Regions from separate parts of the Homo sapiens genome. Here region 1 is linked to region 2. Evidence: promoter capture Hi-C in 16 types of primary human blood cells and fetal thymus (Javierre and others, 2016). All regions are on one chromosome and are shown on one strand. The core of a region is centred on a gene start or on the middle of the fragment in contact, and the rest is flanking DNA. Distances in the headings are between cores, read along the strand shown. Region 1 overlaps RNF150 (ring finger protein 150). Region 2 holds the start of CLGN (calmegin).

Region 1 (3,131 bases), core at 255-2,754, 460 kb before region 2:
CAAATGCTCTGCTGACAGGAGGCGGAGTTCAGGCAGTAATGCTCACTCACCCTCCACCCACCTCCTGCTGTGTGGCCCAGATCCTAACAGACCATGGACTGGTACCAGTCGGTGGCCCAGGTTTAAAATATACAAAAGGATGTGCATAGATTATATGCAGATTCTACACCATTTTATATAAGGAACTTGGGCATCCTCAGATTTTGATAGGGGGCAGTGTCCTGGTACCAATCCCCCACGAATACTGGATACGGAAGGACAACTGTGCTAAATGCTAAAGGAGGGGGAGGAATGGAGGAGTTTGGAAAGAACTGTCTCAGCTGGGCTTGTTGCAGTTATTATTGTCAATTTTCTCATCACCACTATCATTTTCCACCACTGTCCAGCCTTCCCAGTTCCTCCCACAGTGGTCCTTGGGGTGCTCTGTGGACCTGTATGACTTCATGGAGCACCGTGAAACCTACTGGAGCAAGAACAGAAGAGCTAGGTTCAAGTCCTAGTTCTGCCACTTACTACTGGCTCTTTCTGAGACTTTGAGAGAACTATAGCCTTTCTGAAAGTTAGGTAGCCTGCTGTAAAATGGGCTCAAATGTGTTCAAGAACATTGGAAACTAAATCAAATATAATGGATGGTGATGATGGTGATAAAATTATAATAGCCACTGTTATAAAAAAAAGTGTGTTAGAACAATTCTTGGCCAAATCTATCATTTTCTACCAGTGCTATTCCTACTCACACATCCCACCTTCATTGCCACCTGCCATGAGCATGGAATATAATAATAGGTGCAGACAGGTGACTAGCTATCATTATAGTTAACCTTTAGTGAGATCAGTGATTTAAAATGGTACTTTACACCTCTTCATTTCTCTTATTAATTTGACACTTATTTTCTGGAAAGCCAAAACAAGTGGTAGCATCTGGAAGCTGCATTAAACTCCTCAAAAGGTCCCTTCCTAGGAGAAGCAAGTGATTTTGTATTCTTAGCTCTGAAAAGAAGGCAGGGAAAAGGAAACTAACATTTTTGGAGAACTTGCTAAAAGATACATTGTATTAGTCTATCAGGCTGCTATCATCAAATAACATAGACCTGGTGGCTTAAAGAACAGACATTTATTTCTCACAGTTCGGGAGTCTGGGAAGTCCAAGATCAGGATGGCTGCATGGTTGACTTCTAGTGAGATACCTCTTCCTGGCTTGAAGATGGCTGCTGTCTCTCTGTGTCCTCAGTGGTGAGATGAGAGAGTGAACTCCAGTCTTTTTCTTATAAGAACACTAATCCTATCATGGGCACCCCAACCTCATAACCACATCTAAACCTAATTACCTCCCCAAACCCCCACCTTCTAATATCATTATATTGGGGTTTAAGCTTTCAACATATGAATTTGGGGGAACAGAAACATTTAGCACACAACACATGTACAGGGAAAAATTGTTATAATAGTGAAAAATATTGTAAATAACCTAAAGGTTTCTCTGTTGGGGAAAGGACGAATAAACTATAGCATATTCTTAGATGGACTAGTTTTTTTTGTAGCAGTTAACAAGAATTAAATACATAACGAATTAAATCTGAAAACAAGATAAGGAAAAATAAGTAAATTGCAGGATAACACAAATAGCAAGCTTTCTTTCGTATAAAAAATGCTAACACAAAACATTATGTAACTTGTACATTGATTTTTTTGTTACCTGCACACATACACACACACTGATTTGCATGAAAGATACTGGAAGAATTCATATCAAATCAGAGTGGTGGTTGCTGTGTTGGGGATATGAAACTAGTGGTGAGACACAAAAGGAGCTAATGTGGGGGTTTTTATTTGTTTTTTGTTTTGCCTTAATTAAAAAGGCAGGCTTAAATGAAACATCATTCATTCAATAAAAATTTATTCAGAGCCTAGTAAAATTCAGATCCTCCTTTCTATGCTGGGGAATCTTGGGGCAATGCAGGCAGTTCCTGACTTCATGGAGATTACATCCTATTGAATAAGATAAGAAATATAGAATATAATGTCAGGATTCAATTATCAAAAATAAAATGAAAATGAGGCCAAGTAAGGAGTTAGAGAATGACCAGGGACTATTAATTAGGGCAGGCAATCAAGGAGGGCTTATCTGAGAAAGTGACATTGGACAGAGACCTAAATATCATTAAGCATTGACACTTAGTGATGGAGACACCGCAGTTTGGTTTACTATATTATTCCCTGTACCTTTGTAGCATTTAAAAATCTCTCTTTCCGCCCACCAAAAAAAATTCTGCTTCAGAGTAGCATGAGATTTTTAAAGAGGTACCAAACCCAGATGAAGCATTTAGGGATTGCAAACTTTTGAATCAATGATTGGGGTTAGGAGGAATGTGTATAGAAAAACATCACATAAAGTAATGACTTGGTTTTATAAGTGGGAAACAAAAAATGCAAATTATTTTTTAAAATACCAACTCCAGAATTCAACAAAATCTTCCTGATAGGTAAGGATTCAGGAAAAATCACAGTACTTCTGAAAGGTGTGAGAATAGAGGTGTCAAACCTTCACCAGGAGGGATAAGATTTTTAATTTTATCAAAAGGGAATGTGACTCTTTTAAAAAGAAGTTTGAGAATCTGCTCCAGAAGGGAAAATAAATCGTTTAAATGAATTGTTTAAGCCAGGCACAGTGGCTCATGTCTGTAATCCCAGCACTTCGAGAGGCTGAGGCAGGAGGATTGCTTGAGCCCAGGAGTTTCAGACCACCCTGGGCAACACAGCAAGACCCCATCTCTATTTTTTCATTTAAAAAAAAAAACAAACTGTTTAAAGAGTTAGAAGACCCAATCTCAGCACTGACATAGTAAATATTATCCCATTCAACCAACATGAGATGCTGGGTTTCTTATCTATCTCCTTCGTATGAAGTGAATGGGATGGGTTAATATAATCATGAACAACTAAATAGCTTCAACTTTATCATGATCACCAATAGCCTACTTTTTATTAAGGATTTCTTTGAGCCAGAAATAGGGATGAATGCTTTATATTCATTATCTTATTTGGTTGAGAGAATTATTGAGTAAATAATCTCTAAGTCTCTTTCAGCTTTATCAGCCTAGTAAGGAAACAAGAAGAAAGCACAAGAGACT
Region 2 (3,062 bases), core at 402-2,901:
TTATATTCAATCATCCTTTCAATAAGTGGCAAATAATTTTGGAGATATGTTAAGGCCTTAAATTTCAAGGTTAGAGATTAGATTTCATGCTGTGGGTAATGAAGGGTCATTGGAAACTATTGAATGAGCTGAGGATTAAACTACGAAGTGTAGGTGGGAGGCTCTGAAGGGGGGCAACTAGTTAGGTAACTCTGAACAACAGTTTCTAAAGTAGTGAGAATCTAAACTAGAGAAATGGCACAGGGACTGGAGGGGGTGAGGACCTCTTTTAGATGATTTTATGGAGTTAGAGTTTAATTTATGGAGGCAGTGAATGTAGCAGCCAAAGAGTAAAAAAATGTTCTCAAGGTTTTGAGTACTATGTGACCAAGAAGATACTACTAAATCTTGCAAAAATTCACTATTCTTACATTTTTAGTTTTCAGCTTCCTCACTGCAAACTTTGAATGGATCCTTTAAAAAATCCCTCTCTAGCAGTTCAAGTGTATTTGTTATGGGCCACAGAAGTATGTTGAATAATAGAAGTCAGAAGGACGGAAGAAAGAAATAAAGGGTATAATATTGTTACAAAGTATCTCAAACAAAATGTCTTTTTAACCAGTAAATTTTAACACTATCCAAACACTCTCCCAGAGATGACAAAGTCAAAAGTTTAGAAATGCTGGTCTTAATTAGTGAAGCAATGTGAAAAAACTCAGTGATCTTGACCCCTAGCCAATAATGATACGTTGTGCACGGAATGCCACCAAACCCTTAAGATTGAAACTCTTCAACAAGGGTCTTAGACTCACAAGTCAATTAAATGTTGTTAATTAATCTTCCAATAAAATTAAATTGTTATACCAAATTCAAAGTCAAGATTTACTATAAAATATTAAGTAGTAAAATTAATATTGATCCAATATATAAAAGGCAAAGCAGCTTGTGATTGCATAATCATAGCATAAACTACGTTTATGCTAAGATTTATTTCAATGTGTTTGAAACTACAGGCTCTGAGAGAGACAGGCCTGATTTACATCCCGTTTCCACTGTTTACATGTTGTGTAACTTCGAGCAAGTTGCCATCAGTTTCATCACCTGGGTTGCCACGAAGGTTAAACAATGAATGTAAGCCCCTTAGAGCACAATGAACACAATAAATGTTAGCAGCTCTTATTAATAGTGTTGTTCGAGAGAAAAAGAACATATTGTTTTATATACAATGTATTTATTAACACTTAACGCATCTGTATTTGTCATATACACACACCAGACAGGAAAGCTCCTTATTAATCACCATGACTGCAGATCTGTTAACATCTAGAACTCTGGAGAAAACCTAGAGCCCTAATCTTGCTGCACTTATTACTGGACGTTGTTCATAAATATGATTTACATAAAATTCAGGACCCAATCATTGCGCAACAGGAGGTAGCACGGTCTGCAGAGAGGGCGGGAGCTCAGAGGAGGAAAAGTCTTCGGACTTGCAGGGGGAATTCCTCCTGGGCTAACCCGGGAGCGGGGTCCAGGCCACAACCGGCCGGCGGCGGCACAGGCTCCATGTGCGGCTCCCCCTGGAGGCGGTTGAGCCCCTCGGAGCAGGAGCGCGTAGCACACACCTCGGGCCGCCACCGCCTCCCGCCCGCCACCGCACGCGCACGCGCGGTTAGTAGTCGCTGCTGCGCGGCCGCCGGCGGGACTGGTCTGAAGAGACGCGGGGACCAAGTGGCAACGACTTGGACATCTGAGCTGTCACTGCCGAAAACAGGCCGCAAGAGAGGTGCGTGAGCAGCAGGCCGCGTTCCCGCTGTCCCGCTGCCCTTTGCGCGCAGATTGGGGTGAGGAAGCGGAGTCGTTGCTGCTTCCCCCAGGCACCCCGTTACTTTGCCGCCAGAGGGCTGAACCGGTCGGGGCCAAGTGAGGGTGGATGTTGAGTCTGGCGATGGGGCTGCAGCGAGCTAGGGTCTTGACTGGGCTCTGGCGGCCCCGTGGGTGGACGCAGGAGGTGGTGCCACCTGGGACCCTTTGTGTCTTCAGCACCGCCGCATCCACCTGCTGCGCCCGGGCTGGGGCGGACGAGCACGGGGACAGCTAGGTGCCTAGCCCGGCCGGCCTCCCCTGCGGGCTTGAGGAGCCACCGGGAGCCGAGGCCGTTATTCCAGCGGTTGCCATTGCAGCCCCGTTCCACGCTTGAGCCCGGGGCGCTCTCCCAATGGTTGTAGAGGGGGCCCGGGGCGCGTCTGGGCGCTGCTCACTCTGCTGACTGCTCCTTACAGAAACCCAAACGAGATCAAAATAGGCTCGGCTGTCTCAGTCTCCACCTATGTGGAAGCGAAGGGACCCCACTTCACGGCGGTGGGGCCAGGGACTGTTGGCCGCTCCCTCGATACCCGCGCAGAGCCCATTGTGCGCCGCCGGGGGGCGGGCGAAAGGGCTGGGTTGAATCCAGAGAGGCCCTAATTACTAGACTCATTATCGCCCCAGGCCTGTTTACCATCAATCAGACACTTTCGCTGATTTTATTTATAGCATCTGCCCAAGCAACAAAGAGGAGGTGTTTGCTTGGGAGTTAAAAGCAAATGGCAACCAAAGCTCAGGACTGGGAGAGAAAAGGTAAATAACGTGGCCACAGGAAGAAGTCTCAAATTAGAAAAGAGTTCATTAACGTATAAACTTTTTGTTGCTTAAAAGCAGGCAAAATCCCGATCTCATCTGATGATTTTGCTTGTTTTACAAATGTCGACATCACTCGAGGTAGCCCTCCTTTGGGTCATTGTAAGTTTGACCTGTTTTCAGTTTGGAGTTTTGCCTTCACGTCTTATTGGTTTGATCTTCCAGTAACATTTAGATCTCATCTCCAAATCCTCAGAACAAGATATTCTGTACTCTCTGTCTTAGCTAGTTGATAAGGTTAATTATTGTGTGTAAATGATGTAAGTATGTTGATGCATTTGTCTAGAAATTGAAGTGTTGTAAGTTAGCTGTAGTACTTTTTAAGTACCTAATAAATACTGGTGTTTTTAAATAGAAAACTAGAATTATGAACTTTAAAGAATCTTTGGATTGTCTAGTTCACGTCA

The links. Contacts are between HindIII fragments. The CHiCAGO score rates a contact against its expected background, and 5 or more counts as called.
Region 1: a contact is called between a fragment that was not itself captured here and the fragment with the promoter of CLGN in region 2, in 1 of 17 cell types (M1 macrophages). The highest score is 5.7, in M1 macrophages.

What each region holds. Positions count from the first base shown.
Region 1 is chr4:140,888,709-140,891,839 of GRCh38, reverse strand. All of the region lies in intron 6 of RNF150 (ring finger protein 150), which reads left to right. Among named protein-coding and RNA genes, the nearest start is that of TBC1D9, 130 kb to the right of the region's middle. The HindIII fragment of the contact is 257 bases long and covers 1,376-1,632 here.
Region 2 is chr4:140,426,237-140,429,298 of GRCh38, reverse strand. It overlaps CLGN (calmegin), which reads left to right and starts at 1,651. Exons shown (of 15, transcript NM_004362.3): 1 at 1,651-1,762. RefSeq lists an enhancer at 2,445-2,494. The HindIII fragment of the contact is 13,619 bases long and covers 1-3,062 here.